Regions from separate parts of the Homo sapiens genome. Here all the other regions are linked to region 5. Evidence: promoter capture Hi-C in human tissues and cell types (Jung and others, 2019). All regions are on one chromosome and are shown on one strand. The core of a region is centred on a gene start or on the middle of the fragment in contact, and the rest is flanking DNA. Distances in the headings are between cores, read along the strand shown.

Region 1 (3,456 bases), core at 35-2,534, 1.4 Mb after region 5:
ATATGTGACCTTGAATGACTTATTTTTTCTCAAAAAAGGAGCTCCTTCATCTATAAAATGGAGAAAACAAAAATACCACCACCATGAGGTTGTGAGAAAATGATAAAGACACTATACATGAAAGTGCTTTGGGTCGGGCACAGTGGCTCATGCCTGTAATCCCAACATTTTGGGAGTCTGAAGCAGAAGATCACTTGAGCCCAGGAGTTCAAGAGCAGCCTCGGCAACAAAGTGAGACTCTGTCTCTCAAAAAAAAAAAAAAAAAAAAATTAAATTAGCCTGGTGAGGTGGCGCATGCCTGTAGTCACAGCTACTTGGGAAGCTGGGGTGGGAGGATCTCTTGAGCCTGGGAGACTGAGGCTGCAGTGAGCCATGAACCAGCCACTGCACTGTACCCCAACAGAGGAGGATTGTGTCTCAAAAAAAAAAAGTGCTTTGTAATTGGTAAAGGGCTCTACAGATGTAAGCTATTTTAGTTGGGTGAGCCTGGAGTTGTCTTTTACAACAACAATAATACCACTTTAAAGCTTACCAAGTACTCTCATGTGCATTAGCACATTCAGACTGATGGAGCCTGAGTTGTTATTGTTAGTTCTGAGTCTTTGAGGAATGGCTGTTTTTTTTGTTTTGTTTGTTTTTTTGTTTTACCAAATAAACCATCAAAGCACTCTGGAATGTGCCAATTTTCATTCTTTTTTTCTTCACCTACATGCATTAACTAAGCGTCTCTTATAAGCAGTGCATTAAGCTAAGAAATTCAGGGAATATAAAAAGATGGAAATGTGTTCCCTGTCATTGCAGACATACATATTTGTTCACTTAGTAAATATGTATTGAGTATTTACAATGGACTGCACAGTCATGAGCATATACAGAGTCTAAAGTAGGAACTGTACAAATGAAAGAGAGAGAAAGAGAGAACAAATGTGACCATAGTACCACAGTACTATCCACAGTACTACCCATAGAGTGGTCAATAACTACCTAAAAAATATACCAGTCTTAAATGACCAATCATCAGTATTTTGACAATGCCTAGAAATCTCAAGAAACTCCTCTTGCTACTAACTTTATGAAAGTATTTGGGGTTCCCTGGAATTGGTTACTGTGCAACTGGGATGCTTTAGTGATGGAGCTGCCATTCGGAAGGCATGAAGTACACACCCTAGCTACACTCAGTTCACAACAGAGGGCCCTTTCCAATCAACTGAGAGGGCAAGTCAATAGTTATTGAGCTCTGTAGAAAAGAAGAGATTAAAGATTATTTGCCTTGCTCTTAACTTAGTTTTTCTGCCAATCTAATACACGTATCTGTTTTATCATATCCTGTCTTTACACATTTCTGGAAATAATATCTCTGAGTGGCAACAAGCTTACATGAAAAACATAAGAACAATATTTTAAATCCCAAGCAATGATTACTAGATAGCTCAGCCTCACTCTCTACCATGAATATTTTTAATGAAGAGTAGATGGCATGTGAAACTTTTAAAAGGCAATCTTGATGCCTTTTAAAAATAGACGTTAATATTAGGTCCTGTTAGGCCAAAAAGGAAGTGGTAAGGAACCACTTCTTTTTTTAAGGGACCACCCCTCCTCCCCACAAGACACACATACTCTTAAATGATTTGAATGGGACCAACATATCTGTGCAGCATGAGCCCTACTTACAAAGCAGTTTATTGGTCCAGAGGCAGACATATACATTTTTGCAAATTTGGGATTGGAACCAAGAGTTGACTCAGTCTTTCCAGATGGCTGGACAAGTAATACATGAACTTGAAAGCTTATAGTGGCCATATTTTCTATTGTGAGAAGGGGAAGCAAAGAAAATTGTCCTATAGTAATGGAGTGACAATGAAGCAACATCTGGGGGAAAATATTTCATGTGAAAAAGAAATATGGTCCATATTTGGTCCCTTCCACCCACTGTCAATGAAGAAACCACTCAGAAGAAGTAGAAGTGGATGTGAAGGACATGAAAAATAAATCCCCATGGCTTGGCCCCAAGCATGTTACTGAAGACTATTTAAAATTAAATATAAAAATACAAGTAACAAATGCATATGTCATGTTCTTGGTTATATTTTTATTATCAATGATTTGTGGACATTATGCAACAATGCTATCTTCACTGAAGTCATCAGCATCTACGAGTAAACAAAAATATATTTTTCTGAATTTTTGTGCCTTATATTTTATTGAGAGGTTATAGCCTGAATGGAAATTTTCCTTTAGTGACAGCTATAATAGAGGAAAATAGTTTTCGCTCATATATTATTATCTTACAATGAAGTGTGAAGGAAATTATGATTTATGACTTTGCTGATTGTTTATTCCAGCTGCAGACATTATCCCCTTTAGCCAAAATACAGGCCATAATGTCCCACTTATTTGAATGTCAGACTTCCAACAGTGAGTCCAAAAGGGAACGAGCTTCTAAACATCCAAAATAAATATCACAAAATGTATGCACTTCATTACATGAAAGGGGTCATCCTACAGATTATATTGACTCTTCCTTACATGCTATTTTATACTCTTAATTACCTACTTATCCATCCTAAAACTTTAAAGAATAGCCAAGTGACCATCATTAGGAAACAAAAGCTAGAAGCCAGAAATAAGACCCTAAAAATTGTCCAATATTACCACAACAGTTCATTTGTTTTGTAGCATTTGGTCTCTACATTAAAGAAATAATAGTGCAAACATTAATGATGAATACGGAACAATAGAATATTTGTAAAATTTATCTTGAGTCATCAGAAAGAGGTTAAATTATGTTTACTATATTTTGTTTTAAAATGGTAGCAAAATAGGTAATGTACTTTGGAAGATGTAATAAAACAATGTTATAATAAATAAAATTTTATTTCGCTATAATGAAAAAATAAATAAAATTTTATGTTAAAGTTACTTAGAAAAAATGTATTTATTTTGAAAACTTCATTGTAAGGTATTAGTATATTTCAGCAGCAATGCCAACAGTGCTGTCGTTTTGGTCAGATGTCTGATGAAGACAACAGAGAAAGGATTTAAAACACAGAATGACGAAGCTCCTTTCCCACTTCTTCCTTAGCCTCCAGTTCTATCCCCTTACCAGCTTTTCAAAGCTATAAGGGTGCCAAAGAAGTGCCTGGACTTTGTCTATCCATTACAAGGAAATGATGGCAACCCATTTTGCAAAGGTTTGGATACACGTAGAAATGCTCCATCACTTGCTACCTGATCTGCATGAGAGAAGAGCATAAAATATATTAACTCACCATCTTAAATCCTCTCCCATTTCAATGACTCCCACTCATCTTGAAAATTAAGTTCAGCTTTTCCTCAGGAAAAAAACTGCTATTTATTCCATTGCACAAAGACTAATATTTCACTGGGGGAAATCATCTATTTGTAAGTGTTAATTCATAGCTGCCACATTTACTGTTGTGGTTTTTCTGATCAAAA
Region 2 (3,097 bases), core at 495-2,994, 1.5 Mb after region 5:
CACAGTAGTCCCTCCTTACCTTCAGGACAAACAGATCAATCACTTGCCTTTTCTCTACTTGATGATCTCCTGGGACCAAAACGTTCCAATATCTCTCAGTAGATCGCCCTAGCATTTTGCCACTGGACGGTGCAAGTCATTATTCTGCCTCATCCCCAATCATGTCTCCATTACTTTCCTTTGAACTCACTTCTTCCATATAATGTTTTTACTCACAGACAGAAAGGAAACTGCTTTATACCCTCAATGAAAAAATGCAACCTGTCTGTGAAGCGTAATTAAGCCAAATACTTTCCTTCTCTTCTCCAGGCTGATCAATTCAAATTCTTTTAGGCTTTCCTCCGAAGAAACAATTTCCCATTCCCTTAACCTCTAGGTGCTTCCCAGATTCTTCATATCCCTTTTAAGGGCCACTGACCACATCTGGACTCCCCTGGAATGAGAGTCAGACTAAAGCTAAGTGCAGCAGAAAGATGACTTATTGCTGCTATGTCACATGTGCTTCATGCTGCACTTCAGGATCACACTGTCCTTTCCTTTCCCCACAGCACTATTACCCACACTGGCTCATCGCAGTCAACTTGGATTTAACTATGACACCCTGGTCTTTTTTTATTCTATCTAAAATAAGTGAATTTTTATCCTCACATGATTTACTTGTTTCTTTTTTCTTTACTATAAGACATTTCTTTTAGGTCTTTCATTTCCTCTTTTTATTTGAATATTTTTGTAGAGCCAGAAAATGTATACCTAAAGAAGGGGAGGAGTTTAGATTATATAAACGGGAGTGGTAAAATGGCAATTATGGGCCAAAAAGTGTCATAGATGTATATTCTGTGCCAGGATATCTTTAAGTGTGTTTAAGGCTGTGACATCTATAGGCCAGGTTGATATGCACTCTCCAATGACCACAGAACTAATTCCTGTCTTTTGTCTTAAACTCTTTTCCAGGCCTCTAATGGCATTTAAGTTTGAACTCCCAAATCCAACCAACTTATGAAACAGAAGGTGAAGGCAGGAGAGGAGAAATGACCTCCCCAGCCTCACAGAGCCACTTACTGGAGAGCCTGAGCCCCAACCTGGATCTCCTCATTTCCCACCCCCACCTAGTCCTTGCATTATCATATTTGTTGTTTCCTTATAGTGGCCTGAAAAATAAAGAGTTGATAATGAAGAGTTTTAGATGTTTTAAATGATATTTCTGATAACAACTAAACAGGTGCAGGTCACTCTGAGATAATGAGCACAAAAAGCTTAATCATGTTTGAAACTTTTGACAAGAGACTGAACCTTTGGTCATTTCCATTGCTCTTGCCACACAAAAGCCAAGGGTTCTATTTCCATCTCTGAACAACCCAGCCCAACCTCAAGGTCCTAAAGAATCTTAAAAGTGCTGTACTTGATCTTTAACAAATCATAAAAGATTTTACAGAGATCTCACAAGCCTATAAAGCTATTCATCTTTGTTCCTAAGTCTAGAAAAAGAATCACTTCCCCAGCTTAGGTAATTAAGAGTCAGCTGAAACATAGAGGGCTTGCATATGAAGTGATATAATTCTAATAACACTTGCAGAAAACATGAGTTAACTAGAGACAGCCAGCCACCCTACTGTGTAAAGAAAATTTGACTGCATTTGGAGGTCTTCTGTCCTTGACACGTCTATCAAGATTGCTAATGGCCAGCAAACCACAGGCCTTTTGAAAGGAGGCACTAACGCTCTAATAATGTCAATTATACAACCAAACACTCAACAAAACAGAAGAGAGGAAAGACTGGATGAATGATCGATAGAGGTAATTAGATTTCCCTGTACAATATAGAAATGATTTCCATATTCCACAATATCCTGCTGCTCATTCTATAGGCTGCATTTCTTTTCCACTGCTTACAGCCAACCCAAAGGGATCCAAGTTTAAAGAGACAGAACAATGAGGAAAGAAGAGGCCAAGTGGGCTTTTTAATCATTCTGTCCATATCAAATTATTAAAAACTGTTTTCATCACATACAACTGTGGCATAATCTCTCATGCAATTTGAAAACATTCTATACACTAGAGCAACTGATTTTTCCAAGGATGTTGAATGTCAGAGCTAGAATCAGAAAAACAGGGTGTTTTACAGTTAAGTTATTCTTTCTTTGATACTGTATTTGACGTACGATAATAAGTATTCAGGAAGCTAAAAGTCATTTGGGCTGATTCTAACCAGAAAGAAAAATCAGTGGGTGAAGATTTATAAATTTGTTAACAAGTCTAGATATAGCCAGGGATGAGTGAAGCTGCAACCTAGAAAAGCAATCATACTTGAAGTCTGTAGTTCTTCTGTACCAAAGATAGAACCCAAAGTCATGGTTGAACACCATCTTCTACCACCTGCCATAAAATCCTCCTTTGTTTTTGTCTTTCATATTTCACTTCATTCAAAAATATTTATTACACACTTACTGTGACAACATATATTCTTGTTTTAAACTTATTTCTCTTTCTCCTTTTGTTTCTTTTCATTTTTTTCTTCTCCCTGACACCTGCCCAGAGTACTTTGAAATTCATAAAGTGATACTATTAAGCTTGAAGACACTTGACCACTGTGCAGTGCTAAACCTGCCTGTCTCTTCACTTTTTATAATGATCACCTATGAATGTGCTCTGGGGTCAGAAAAGCTGGGTTTGAAGCTCTACTGCCTCTAGCTATTTGCTCTTGGGCAAGTCACTTAAACTATCTTCACCACAATCTTCTCATTTTTAAAAGGGGATAGTAATAAAACCTAATTTTTACATAAAACTTACTTAATTTTGCGTAAAATTTAAAAAAGAAAATATCCCAAAACTATTTAGAAGAGTGACTGCCACAGAATAAGTATTCAATAACTGAAATCTGTCATTATCATTAGAAACAATAAAATAAAATAAACATGAAATAAAATTCTTCTTCTGAATTTTCTTGTTTCCACTTTCATGAATCCTAAAAGTATCTAAAACATCAAAAGCTACTATGTTGAAGAACCAAAAATACAAGATTTTGGATGGGCAAACTGCTGAGCACTTGGTTGCTAAGGGAAGCATCAAGACACTTTTTTGTTCATGGGTTGATTAGCAA
Region 3 (3,259 bases), core at 168-2,667, 1.6 Mb after region 5:
TCCACCTCGGGATGCTCTAATTTTATAAAGTAAGTTGATATTATAAAGTACGCAGCCTAGGATCAAAAAAAAAAACAAAAAATGTACTTCACACTTTCATCCAGCATTGCAGTTTACAGGACTTGGATAAGGGATTTGTTTTAATCTGTTTGGCTAGGACCTAGGATCTACACACCATAACGGTACAATTATTACACAAGTCAGGAAGATCCAAATGTACCCATATCTTGGATGTATGATACTGAACTGTATAAAAATATAGGGCTGATGCTACCATTCTATTAAAACCTATTTTTCATTTTATCTTCTTTATTTCTTTACTAGCTTATTAGCTACATATCTGTGTTTTGTTACTTTAATGATGTCTTTAGAATTTATAGTACATATTTTTAACTTTCTACTATCTACTTTTTTATACATATATTATTTTTATTATACTTTAAGTTCTAGGGTACGTGTGCACAATGTGCAGGTTTGTTACATATGTATACATGTGCCATGTTGGTGTGCTGCACCCATTAACTCGTCATTTACATTAGGTATATCTCCTAATGCTATCCCTCCCCGCTCCCCCGACCCCACAACAGACCCTGGTGTGTGATGTTCCCCTTCCTGTGTCCAAGTGTTCTCATTGTTCAATTCCCACCTATGAGTGAGAACATGCGGTGTTTGGTTTTTTTGTCCTTGCGATAGTTTGCTGAGCATGATGGTTTCCAGCTTCATCCATGTCCCTACAAAAGACATGAACTCATCCTTTTTTACAGCTGCATAGTGTTCCATGCTGTATATGTGCCCCATTTTCTTAATCCAGTCTATCATTGTTGGACATTTGGGTTGGTTCCAAGTCTTTGCTATTGTGAACAGCGCCGCAGTAAACATACGTGTGCATGTGTCTTTATAGCAGCATGATTTATAATCCTTTGGGTATATACCCAGTAATGGGATGGCTGGGTCAAATGGTATTTCTAGTTCTGGATATTTGAGGAATCGCTACGCTGTCTTCCACAATGGTTGAACTAGTTTACAGTCCCACCAACAGTGTAAAAGTGTTCCTATTTCTCCACATCCTCTCCAGCACCTGTCGTTTCCTGACTTTTTAATGATCGCCATTCTAACTGGTGTGAGATGGTATCTCATTGTGGTTTTGATTTGCATTTCTCTGATGGCCAGCAATGATGAGCATTTTTTCATGTGTCTGTTGGCGGCATAAATGTCTTCTTTTGAGAAGTGTATGTCTACTTCTAAGTGATATTATGCCGCTTTGTGCACATAGGAATCTTACAATGGCATATCCTCATTTATCTGCTCCAGGCCCTTGGATTATAGTTGTTATGCATCTTACTTTAATGTTGAATACCCCACACCACATTATTACTTTTTCTTTAATCGCTAGTCTTATAATAATTTAAATAATAGAAATGTATTTGCCCATTAAAATACTTATTTTTTATTTTGACCATTGATATATAAATGCTTTTGCAACTCTCTAAAAAAAGCAGTTAGAACTGGCAACCTACAGAATGGGAGAACATTTTTGCAATCTATCCATTGACAAAAGGCTAATACCCAGAATGTACAAAGAACTTTAAAAAATTCACAAGAAAAAAACAAACAACCCCATCAAAAAATGGGCAAAGGTGAACAGACACTTCTCAAAAGAAGATATTTATGCGGTCAACAAACATATGAAAAAAAGCTCATCATCACTGGTCATTAGAGAAATGCAAATCAAAACCACAATGAGATACCATCTCACGCCAGTTAGAATGGCAATCATTAAAAAGTCAGGAAACAACAGGTGCTGGGGAGGATGTGGAGAAATAGGAACACTTTTACACTGTTGATGGGAGTGTAAATTAGTTCAACCATTGTGGAAGACAGTGTGGGGATTCCTCAAGGATCAAGAACCAGAAATACCATTTGACGCAGCAATCCCATTACTGGGTATATACCCAAAGGATTATAAATCATCCTACTCTAAAGACACATGCACACGTATGTTTATTACAGTACCGTTCACAATAGCAAAGACTTCAAACCAACCCAAATGCCCATCAATAATAGACTGGATAAAGAAATGTGGCACATATACACCATGGAATACTATGCAGCCATAAAAAGGGATGAATTCATGTCCTTTGCAGGGACACGGATGAAGCTGGAAACCATCATTCTCAGCAAACTAACACAAGAACAGAAAACCAAACACTGCATGTTCTCACTCATAAGTGAGAGTTGAACAATGAGAACACATGGACACAGAGAAAGGATCATCACACACTGGGGCCTGTCAGGGGGTGGGGGGCAAGGGGAGTCATAACATTAGGAGAAATACCTAATGTAGGTGATGGGATGATGGGTGCAGCAAACCACCATGGCATGTGTATACCTATGTAACAAACCTGCACGTTCTGCACATGTATCCCAGAACTTAAAGTATAATAATAATAATACTAAAGCAGATTTAATGTCTCTCTTCTTCATTACGCATCCTTAAGACATTCTCTAGATGTTCACTCAAGCTAATATAAAATCTGCCTTAATAGCAGACATCTAATAAGCAACATGGCCACTTTACATATGTGGTATTATTTGCTACTCAGTGTCTTACAATGCAGTTACATAGATCTACCATTCCTGTCATACAACGGAGGTACCTAAGGAATCTGACTTAGCAAAGTGACTTTGCCCACTCCTGTCCACATCTCTTAACCTCTTTCTCAAGGTTCAAGTTGCCCTTTTCTTTTTTATCTTTCACTCATTTCTTCTTCTTTTTTTTTTTTGAGACGTAGTCTCGCTCTGTCGCCCAGGCTGGAGTGCAGTGGCGTGATCTCGGCTCACTGCAACCTCCGTCTCCTGCGTTCATGCCATTCTCCTGCCTCAGCCTCCCAGGTAGCTGGGACTACAGGTGCCCGCCACCACGCCCGGCTAATTTTTTATATTTTTAGTAGAGACGGGGTTTCACCGTGTTAGCCAGGATGGTCTCGATCTCCTGACCTAGTGATCCACCCGCCTCGGCCTCCCAAAGTGCTGGGATTACAGGCGTGAGCCACTGCACCTGGCCCTTTTCATTCATTTCTATAAGAAGCCAGCTATTATATACACCTACATACATGTATATAGTAAGTGTGTATGTATAAACACACACACACACACACACATAAATATACATATAACCTGCTGCCTTCATGGTGAGAGGAAATTCTATTATTATAATTTATCATCATGAGGTGGGGAGAATAGAGAAAAATAACTTATT
Region 4 (3,260 bases), core at 89-2,588, 1.3 Mb after region 5:
ATTGTGAACATCATTGCACTATGAGCATAAAGCCTGGGCTTTGCAAAGAGACCTGCAGGTAGCAGCTCCCTAAAGAGTAGATCAAGTTAATTACCATGTTATTCATTTACTCTATCAGGAAAAAAATCTCTTATGCCTCAGGTACACAAAACTGATTATTATTAACATCTTTTTCCCTCCTCACACTCTCTCACATTTGTTAATATCAGGTGACAGAGAGACCAGGACATCCATCTCCTTAATGAAAAAAAAACAAACAAACTGACAGTCTATTATTTCTAGGTACTAAGGGCCACTCTTTCCCAGGGGCAAAGGGAGAAAGAATGATTTGCTGCTAACTGTGTGGCTTCTCTGTCTAACTCCAATAAGTTCACTACTTTCTCACCATTTCCAATCCCTTCCCGTCTATCCATGTTAAAGACAAAACAGAAATTCATGCTGGACTTTCTGGAGCAAAGGGTGCAAGCTCTGGTTAAGGCAGAAAATGAGTCATTAAACTGGGGCATATGTGGAAATTAGCAGGGAAAGGTCTTGGGTTCCCACTTCATCCCCAGGGAAGAAACAGTTAAGGTAGCTCACCCATTTGCAATAGCTTTAGGACCACAGACCACAGTCCACCAGCATTCAACTCACCTTCTCCTTGTCTTTCATTTCCTCCTAGATAGACTTGCTGTTTTCTCTCAAAGACAATCTAAAACGGTCAATATTTGGGACCCACCAAATCCTCCCCACCTCCACCTCTTCCTTCAAATAGGAGACCAGCCAGAGCTGAGGTAAAAATCAGTTGAGAAAGGGATGGCAAAATGGTGCAAAAAATATATCTCCTTCAATGTCCCCAATCACAGACTAGATGAAGAAATTGAGGCTTCAAGGAAAGCGTATGGTGGGGGAAAGGGGCACTGTTAGATAAAGGATGCTGTGATTTATTAAATATGTTTACCCTATACTCCAGACGCGTGAAGAACAAACAGAATAAAAAGAGAGGGAAAGAAATGTATAGAAAAAAAGTAGAACATTCAGGGAGGATGGAGAGGAGAAAAGCTTTATTTGTATCAAAGGTACCTATGTGTCTGTGATTTTGTCTCTTGGAGACATCCTATTTAATTGCTGCATATCCATCAGGAAGCAGACAGCCTTGAAGAGCATGTTTGAACTCAGACCTATCCACAGAGGAAGAGCAATACCATTTCAATATACTAGCTATCTTCCAGTTATGTAGGGTGTTTTTGTTTCTTGCTACCCTAAAGATAGCAAGACTCACATGGTGAGTCAGAAGAAAGAGAAAAACAAGTCAAAGACTGAGTTTAGTCCTCAGAATTTATTTTTGGTGCTTTCATAACATGGTAATAAGAATAAGCAAGGGGTTTATGGGGTGTGCCTGGAGCTCTTTGGCAATCTTAGCATTTGAAAACCCTGCCCTCCTCCTGGGCCTTTGTTGCTGACCTATTGATTTTTTTAAGCTCTGCAACATGAGGCTGGCTTACTGAAGGCTGAAGCTGCTCTGCCTGGCTAAGGGTTTTTATCATCCCCTTATTGAAATGAAGACTTATCATGACCTGTTTCAGTGGCAGCTGCCATTTGGGACAAGATTGATGTGGGCTCTGAATATTTTTTTAGTCATGGGAAGGAATGCTGCCTTTGGGTTGAAATTGGAGGGAAGAAGTATTGTCTAAGCAGTTCGTATTTTTTCCTTTTTCACTGTCCTCGTTGCAAAAATTATGATCCTTCTGATCAAGTCCTGTTCAATTCAATTTATCAGAAGGGTGAGTTTTTGATCAGTGGCTGTGTACAAATCTCCCCAAATCTCTCCAGAGATCTCAAGAGGAGTCTTTCTCCTGATCTACTACCAGTGCTTTCCTGGGCTCCCCATACACCCTTTTTCCACCCATGCTCCCCAGCAAGTAGAGAGAGCCCCCTTGTGTCCTCACCACCCACATCGCAGAATCTTTAGGGAGTGTTCTCAGGACCCTTGATTTTTGGGGGAAACTAGCTGCTGTTCTGGGCAGAACAATGGTGACAAATAAATTCCTTCCTGCTGTTCATTCTGTAAGTCTGCAGCCAACTTTTTCTCTTAATGTTGGTTCTTTACTTGTCTATGTCATTCTGGAACAGTGGAGGCATAGACTTTCCCTGTGCCTAAATTTAATGAAGTTTTGGCTCTATTTAAGCAATTTCTAAGGCTTTGGAGGTCATTAACTTCACAAATCTCCATCACAGTTGCTTTCTCTCTCTCAAGTTTTCAGAGGAAAGCCCACAGCTTTCCACAAAAGAATTCATGGGAAAACTTTTTCTCCAAACCCCTCCATCACTTCAGTCTGTCTAAGCTTCCATCCCTCTTGTGGACTGAAATTCAGCACGGTACAGCATCCTTGTAGCCACTATTGCTAAGGATCAGCTTATTGAGGCAAAATAGACTATCTCATTCCTAAGTGACTTCAGTGGTAACAGAGTTTTAAGGAGGATTACTGTAGACTAGATCCTCACCTTCTCCTGCTTGGCCTTCTGTACCTTGTGGGACTTTTTACTTTGGGTCCATGCAGTATGGATATTGTGACTTTAGAATAGTTTCTCAAGACAAAGCTGTAACTGTTATCTCACTTACATGAGATAGCATATGAGAAGTGTCCTAGCTTGATTCCACAGATGCAGTTCTAGACCCAGAACCATCTCTTCCTCTCTGGGTCTTAACTTTCCCTTTCTGTACAAGAAATACAAGGAAGGGAATGGGTTAAATAAACATTTCCCAAAGTGTGTTTCTCAAAACCGGAAGAAAGTTTGGTGAGACCAGTCTGGGAGATTCTGGGTTAAAGTTTGAAAGTTTTTGTTTTGTTTTGTTTTGTTTTCACTGCAAAACTCCCAGGACTTTAAATATAATAAAGAGCATTTTAAAAGTGCAAGGTGGAAAGTGTAAAAGAGATTACATCTCTCAAACTGTACGTTGCCCAATTCCTTCCATTTTTTCAGTGCATATCATGGGGCAAGTATGCCACCAAAAACACTTCACAACAGCAAAAGGCTGAATTATTTCTAAAGCTCCCCCAAGCTGTAAAATTATTTTTTGTAGAATTTTCCCTTCTGATTAAAAAACATAATGCTTAACACTATTAGCAATGTCATAAAACGGTAAAGTATAAAAAAAAGGATTCAGATATTCAGTGTTGAAGCTGAATTCCTTTTTAAAATTTGCATTTTGGAATAATAGTAATAAGAATGGATAAGGGTTATTAAGCAGCTATTTAATGTACAAGATACTGTGATAA
Region 5 (3,286 bases), core at 787-3,286:
ACTATGTTGCCTACACTGGCCTCAAACTCTTGGCCTCAAGTGATCCTTCTGCCTTGGCCTCCCAAAGTGCTGAGGTTACAGGCATGAACCATAGGAGCCTGGCCAAAGAGTAATAAACATTGAAAACTCATCCCTTCCTGCTACATTTTCCATTATTTATGTTTTTGGTTCTTTATGGCTGTCGTATGTGGGTGGTGGAAATACTATGTGATGGTGTGCTTCTGTGCTTCCCTCCCCAACTCCCACTCCTCACTCAACTCCATGTTGCTAAATCCCCAACTTGTGTTTAGTGACATCGAGTTGGCATCTTTAAACATGGTAGGAGTATTTACACCACAGGAATCAGCAACCTTTGGAAATCAGGGCCTTGCTTGATTTATACTTTAAAGGACAGCTATTTGTTAAACATTTTTCAGTTCACCTCAGGATTCAGTGGACAAATGGAGACACTGGTGCTAAAACAAAGTGCTGACAGTTCACCCACAGGAACAAGAGTGAAGGCAAGGCATTTGGTCTGGTGGGTAGAGAGGTGGCAGAGCGATGTGACCTATTGACTAAGTGAAAATGGAAGTAAGGTAATGACTGGAGTATAAGGCTGGGAACAAAGGTGTCAGAGGTGTGGAGGAATGCGGGAGAGTAAGTGGATTAGAGAAATTCAGTACTCTCTTTTTTTTTTTTTTTTGAGATGGAGTCTTGCTCTTGTCGCCTAGGCTGGAGTGCAATGGGCGAGCTCTGCTCACTGCAACCTCCGTCTCCCGGGTTCAAGCGATTCTCCTGCCTCAGCCTCCGGAGTAGCTGGGACTACAGGCGCCCGCCATCACGCCTGGCTAATTTTTGTATTTTTAGTAGGGACAGGGTTTCACCATGTTGGCCAGGCTGGTCTGGAACTCCGGACCTCAGGCGATCCGCCCACCTTGGCCTCCCAAAGTGCTGGGATTACAGGCGTGAGTCACCGCACCCAGCCAGAAATACAGTACTTTCATAGTGTATTTGTCTGGCACCATTAAAAGGCGCCATAGGGTTAGTGGTTATGAACTTAAAAGATGCACAGTGGGTGTGTATTTTCCTTCAGCCCCTTCTGGTGGCTTGGGTAGAGACAGTCAGAGGAGACCTAGATTTACACAAGGCTAGGGTTTTGCCAGACCAGTGTGACTGCGTATGGCAGGGGCGAGCGAGATGGCAAAATCGTAAAAGTCATCACCTCAGAGACCCTCCATAATCACCCTCACTAAAATCATGTCCGCGCCCGTGTCACTTTAACCGATTATTGTTTTTATTTTCCCAGCTTGTTGATTGGGTGTGAAATCAGCCGGCTCATCAGCAGAGCTGGTGTTTCCTCCCTGCGGAATCCGCAGTGCCCACTACAGCGCTGGGGCATAGGAGGCCTCAGAACCGTGCTGAATACACGGATTAACGTGCTGGTTCTCCTAACATCTGTTGGTTGCAGTAAATAATAATACTCGCAACTCTTTTGTATCCTCTAGTTCCTTGCTCCGTGGTGTTTAACCTTAGCGAGCAAAGGAACTTACCTGCAGGTTTTGGTGCACTAAAACGCGGTTCTTATTCCCGAGGCAATCTTTACCTTACACGAGGCCCAAACCCAAGCCTCAGAGGCAGCTGCCTGGTGGCATGAGTAATGCTGGCCTTTGTCACACCAGGCCTTCCTTATTAATACTTTTTTCCCGTGCTGCCAACCACGGCTTATTCTGTGACTCCAGGCGGTGATACCATAAACGCATAAGCCCAAGGTCCAGGTTTCCTGGGGCGGGGCGTGATGGCTCCCAGGCAGAGAAGCTTTTCTCGGCAGGCGCGGCCGCGGGAGGGCACCAGGGCCGCTCTGGCGCCGCCAGCGTGGAGACCGCGGGGCCCCGGGTGCTCTGGGAGCGCTCCAGCGCCTCCCGCGCTCTGTAACCCCAGGCCCCGGACTCTGGCAGTAGGGGCGTGGGCGTGGCCGACTGCGCGTTTCTCCGAGTGGCCAATAAAGTTTCGAAAGTTTGAAAAGCGGAGGAAAAAGGCCACGCCCATGTGGCTGTCCGAGTGTGGGCGCCTCCGGGCCTCTGCGGAGCCCTGGGCAGCTCTGAGCTCGCGGAGGCGTGGCCGGTGCGCGGGGCCCGCGGCGCGCGGGGATGGGGGTCTCGGTGGATGTGCACCAGGTGTACAAGTACCCCTTCGAGCAGGTGGTCGCCAGCTTTCTCCGAAAGGTACCGCCCCGCTTCCACCTTCCGTATCCCGCGCTGCCTCCGCTGCTTGCCCCTCTCTCCTCTCCTTCATCCACGCGGAAGCTGGCACCGCCAGTGTCTCTTTCCAGCTGCGGGCTTTGCTTCAGGGATGTGTGGGTCGAGAGGGATTTCCTCGAAGACTCCCTTTACAGGGAGCGGGAAAAGGGGCCGTGCTTGGCATCACGTTCACACCTGCCCCAGCTGAAAGAAGAGGCTTTCCTTTTAGGAAGAGCCTCCGGGAATCCCAGCTCGTGAGCTCCGTGGAGTTGCAGATGACCGACGTGTGGAGCTTTCCGGTTCATCACTGACCCCTTAAAAGCGAGGGGAGGCCATTGGGCAGTCATCCTGGTTTACTCAGCATGATGGTTCTGCTGCCCCATCCGCTGCTCCTTATTAAACAGCTGTGGGACATCGTGCAGGTTGCTTACTCTCTTTGTGCCTTAGTTTGCTAATCTGTAAAATGGGGAAAATAATAGTACCGACTCATAGAGTTGTTGTGAGGATCCAAATGAGGTAACTTGTGTAAAGTGCTTAGCACAGTTGTGACCTAAATGAAGAAACTGAGGCAAAATCAATATAAAAAGAGAGTTCATTCGAGCCAAGTTTGAGGGCTGCATCCTGGGAGTGAAGGTGCCCTGAGTATACATTCTGATGAGCAGAAGTCGAAAGTGGGTTTTTAAAGGAGAATAAGAAGCACTTCCTAAGTTGTTTACCAAGAATTTATATTAAAATAACATAAACTATTGATTGTCTGTACATTGTTCTTTGTATCACAAATTCCAGGAACTTGAAGATAATGGGTAAGGCAGCTGGTCAGGAACAAAATGCCTTTAACCAGTTGCTCCCAGGAATGGGTTGGGTGAGGAGGGGACCACTAAAGTCCTATACTCTTGTCTCTCTGGGCTTGATTGATTTTGCATATTTCACTGTAACTCACACAATCTGCTCTGAGCTATTTTTCTTTTTCTCACTGCTACTGATGTTTAGTTAGGGCTCTAAAATGTTATTGTTGTTTGTATTACTACAACCGATTTCAATACAGATAATGAACTCTTCCTCAATACTGA
Region 6 (3,350 bases), core at 579-3,078, 1.6 Mb after region 5:
TTCCCTCTCCTTAGGTGTGGACTGCACATAGTGACTTCTTCTGAAAGAGTACAGTATGAAAAAGAGAAAGAAAGAGTAACTTTATACTGGAGAAACATGACAGCCACTATCTCAATCAAATAATCAAGATCCACATCAAAAGTAATAATCAAGATCCACATCAAAAGTAATAAGTCACATTAATAATGTGTACCCTTGATATGATGTGATGAAAATGACACTTTACATCTATGGTCTTCCTCCCAAATACCCATAACCCTAGTCTAATTATGAGAAAACATCAGCCAAAGGAGCCTAAGGAAATAAAATATTAAATGTAATATGTTATCCCAGATGGAATCTTGAAACAGGAAAAGGTCAGTAGGTAAAAACTAAACCTGAATACATTATGGACTTCAGTTAATAATAATTGCTATGATTTAGATATTTATCCCTTCCAAACCTCACGTTTGATCCCCAATATTAGAGATGGGCCCAATGGGAGGTCTTAGGTCATGGGGTTAGATCCCTCATGAATAGATTAATGCCTCTCCTTGGGCTTAAGTGAGTTCTGGTTCTATTTGTTCCTAGTTGTAAAAAGAGCCTGGAGCCTCCTCCTCCCCTTGCTTCCTCTATGACCATGCAATCTCTACACACATCAGCTCTCCTTTACCTTCAGCCATGAGTAGAGGCAGCCTGAAGCCCTCATCCAATGCATATACCCAATCATAAACTTTCCAACCAGCCAAATCATGAGCAAAATACACCTTTTTGTCTGTATAAATTACCCAGGCTTAAGTATTTCTTTATAGCAACACAAAATGGACTAAGACAATAACATACCAATATTAATACATTAATTAGTATTGACTGTATGAATTATATTGTCTGGTGAGATATAAAATGCACATAGAATAAAATATGTGACAACAATAACATATTAGTTGGGAACTTGGTAAAGGTGTTATACATAGGGAAAAAGTATATAATTTTCTATGGTTTGTGTTATTTATCCAATAATAGTAATAATAATATTTTATTACCATATGGTGAAATGCTTATCATTTTCTACAAAAAGACACTTGCTAAGAAGTACATCTTTTTATAGACAAGACTAACATGACCTCTGTCTGTACACTAGAATGTCAGTACATGGCCCCTAGATAATTAAGGAGTTCTTGGACTTAAAAATCCAAACAATGTGTCTTGCTTTAACATCTTTTCATACTTAAAAATAATAAGCTTAAAAACAAAACATTGCAAAAAGAGCTTCCCCTTCAAAAAAAATAAAATAAAATTAAGCCTCTTTCAGTTGTCAGCTTTGCTTCTGAATTTATAAATTTCAACTTACAAACAACTTTCAGAGAAAGTGAGTAAAGTAGGGTACACTTGTGCACTATTCCTTTCAAGAACAGAACGGGAGTCTTCAATTCTTAGCTACACCATGGTTGCCATTTTGTATCATAGATGTGGCACCAGTTAAATGAAGCAAGATATTGAAATGAGATTCTTTTCACATTTCATGAAACACAGGGATTTGTGTTGTTTTTTCCTAGGGGGTTAAGATTGAATGTAATATTTCAATCATACTTGAAAGAACATGAGTTAATTTTTCATAGCCACTAATCCACTCATTCAGAAATGATAATGCAAATGTTCAAATATTTATGCTTCATAGGCAAAATATGGTGCCCTGAATTACTGCATTGTGCTCTCTCCTAATGCTTACTTACAATTCATTTCAGATCAGGTAACCAGAAAATCACTGTATTCAACAGGGGAGTGATAGCAATAAAGTCTTTATACTTACAATCCTTTCATATTTATTCACATGCAAGACTTGTTTGCCTCCTTGAATACAATTAAAATATCCATCGAAGTCAGTGACTAAGGCAATAATATAAAATATTGTGCCTTTAATTGATCTGATTGCAATTTCCAGTCTACATTCTATGTAAAATCCAAAGGGTCTTGTGAGAAGAAGAGTGACTCTACTACAATGTTTTATTATTCCCAAACATGATGAGTGCTTTCAATGTAAACTTTCAACCTCACCCATCATGAAAGCTGTGTTTTCAACATTATTTTTCAATGCTTCTGAAAAATGTTTTGAGAACATGAGTAAAGTCAGGAATTGCATTACTTGGAGTGTTTTTTACTCACGTAGTGCCCTTCTTTCCAGTGTCATTATTCCCAGGGTATAGAAGCAGAAAATCAGATTCAGACTAAAGCTCAAGACACTTCGAGTGAGTTTAAGAGTTAAGAGGAGGACCTCAAGCACCATGCATGATTTCATAGAAGAATTCTGCCCTGTTCTACATTGTAGTAGCTTCCAAGCATGAAAGATATAATACAGGGAGGAGAGCTTGCCACCTCCCTCTTCAGTCCTGGTGTCTCGATCCCATCCTTGCTCACTTCAGAGATATACTTCTTGTATCTCCTCACCAGCCTAAACAATCTAAGAGCATTGAAGGATGTTTCAAAACCATACATTGTCATCAAGTACCCCTGGTATGAAGCACTGAGAAGAGCAAACCGCCTCCCTGGTATCTTGTTCAATAATTCATAATCTCAATATAATCTTAAGAAGACATCAGAAAAACCCAGATTGGAAGACATTGGAAAAAATAACTAACCAATAGTCTTCAGAAGTGTCAAGGTCCTGAGAGATAAGAAAATACTGGGGGACTTTCACAGATGGGAGGAGAGACTAAGGAGACGTGAGGATTAAATGCAATGTGGGAAAAATTGACAGGACTTTCTAACAGAAAGAGAATATTAGCGGAAACATTTGTGAAAATCAAGTTAAGTTGTATACTTTAGCTAATGTATTATACTGAGATTTAACTTCTCAGTTTTACTAAGTCCTCTGGTTGTACAAAATATTAACAAAAGAAGAGGCTGGATGAAGGGTAATACAGGGACTCTGTACTATTTTTTCAACTCTTCTGTTAGACTTACATTATCTCAAAATTTTAAAAAGTAAAAAAACAAAGAAAAAATACACACTGAAATGAAGAAAGAAAGGAATGAAGAAGAGAAAGAAGAAGGAATGAAAGAAGGAAGCACAATTCGAATTTAAAGAGATATCGGGAGGTTTCATAATTGCTGACTGATTCCTCAGGAGATTCCAGATACTCATTTGAAAGCATTCTGATGCAGTCAGAAAGTGACATAATATGGTGGCAAATGCCATGGACTTTAGACACAGACATATCTGGGTTTGAAATCTGATTTTACCACTTATTAGCTACGTGTCTGATGTTACATTACTTAATTTTCTGAAGTTCAATTTTCTTACATGTAAATAGAGGTGTTAATAGTACCCACTTCATAGGGCTGCTATGAGGACTAAAGGGGGTAATCCAGGT

Evidence for each region. Contacts are between HindIII fragments. The study calls those that stand out against the background at their distance.
Region 1: a fragment that was not itself captured here is called in contact with the fragment with the promoter of PRELID2 in region 5 in 1 of the 25 tissues and cell types used here (dorsolateral prefrontal cortex).
Region 2: a fragment that was not itself captured here is called in contact with the fragment with the promoter of PRELID2 in region 5 in 1 of the 25 tissues and cell types used here (dorsolateral prefrontal cortex).
Region 3: a contact is called between a fragment that was not itself captured here and the fragment with the promoter of PRELID2 in region 5, in 2 of the 25 tissues and cell types used here (dorsolateral prefrontal cortex and mesenchymal stem cells).
Region 4: a contact is called between a fragment that was not itself captured here and the fragment with the promoter of PRELID2 in region 5, in 1 of the 25 tissues and cell types used here (dorsolateral prefrontal cortex).
Region 6: a fragment that was not itself captured here is called in contact with the fragment with the promoter of PRELID2 in region 5 in 2 of the 25 tissues and cell types used here (dorsolateral prefrontal cortex and lymphoblastoid cells).

Annotation. Positions count from the first base shown.
Region 1 is chr5:144,383,952-144,387,407 of GRCh38, reverse strand. The region is part of intron 3 of KCTD16 (potassium channel tetramerization domain containing 16); the gene reads right to left. Among named protein-coding and RNA genes, the nearest start is that of KCTD16, 210 kb to the right of the region's middle. The HindIII fragment of the contact is 3,150 bases long and covers 1-2,859 here.
Region 2 is chr5:144,301,706-144,304,802 of GRCh38, reverse strand. The region is part of intron 3 of KCTD16 (potassium channel tetramerization domain containing 16); the gene reads right to left. Among named protein-coding and RNA genes, the nearest start is that of KCTD16, 130 kb to the right of the region's middle. The HindIII fragment of the contact is 5,492 bases long and covers 1-3,097 here.
Region 3 is chr5:144,220,465-144,223,723 of GRCh38, reverse strand. The region is part of intron 3 of KCTD16 (potassium channel tetramerization domain containing 16); the gene reads right to left. Among named protein-coding and RNA genes, the nearest start is that of KCTD16, 51 kb to the right of the region's middle. The HindIII fragment of the contact is 5,124 bases long and covers 1-3,259 here.
Region 4 is chr5:144,486,058-144,489,317 of GRCh38, reverse strand. No RefSeq gene overlaps it. Among named protein-coding and RNA genes, the nearest start is that of KCTD16, 320 kb to the right of the region's middle. RefSeq lists an enhancer at 1,164-1,665. The HindIII fragment of the contact is 6,518 bases long and covers 1-3,260 here.
Region 5 is chr5:145,834,092-145,837,377 of GRCh38, reverse strand. PRELID2 (PRELI domain containing 2) reads left to right here and starts at 2,036. Exons shown (of 7, transcript NM_205846.3): 1 at 2,036-2,201. The coding sequence starts at 2,127. RefSeq lists a silencer at 1,725-1,844. The HindIII fragment of the contact is 8,273 bases long and covers 1-3,286 here.
Region 6 is chr5:144,240,011-144,243,360 of GRCh38, reverse strand. The region is part of intron 3 of KCTD16 (potassium channel tetramerization domain containing 16); the gene reads right to left. Among named protein-coding and RNA genes, the nearest start is that of KCTD16, 71 kb to the right of the region's middle. The HindIII fragment of the contact is 5,226 bases long and covers 1-3,350 here.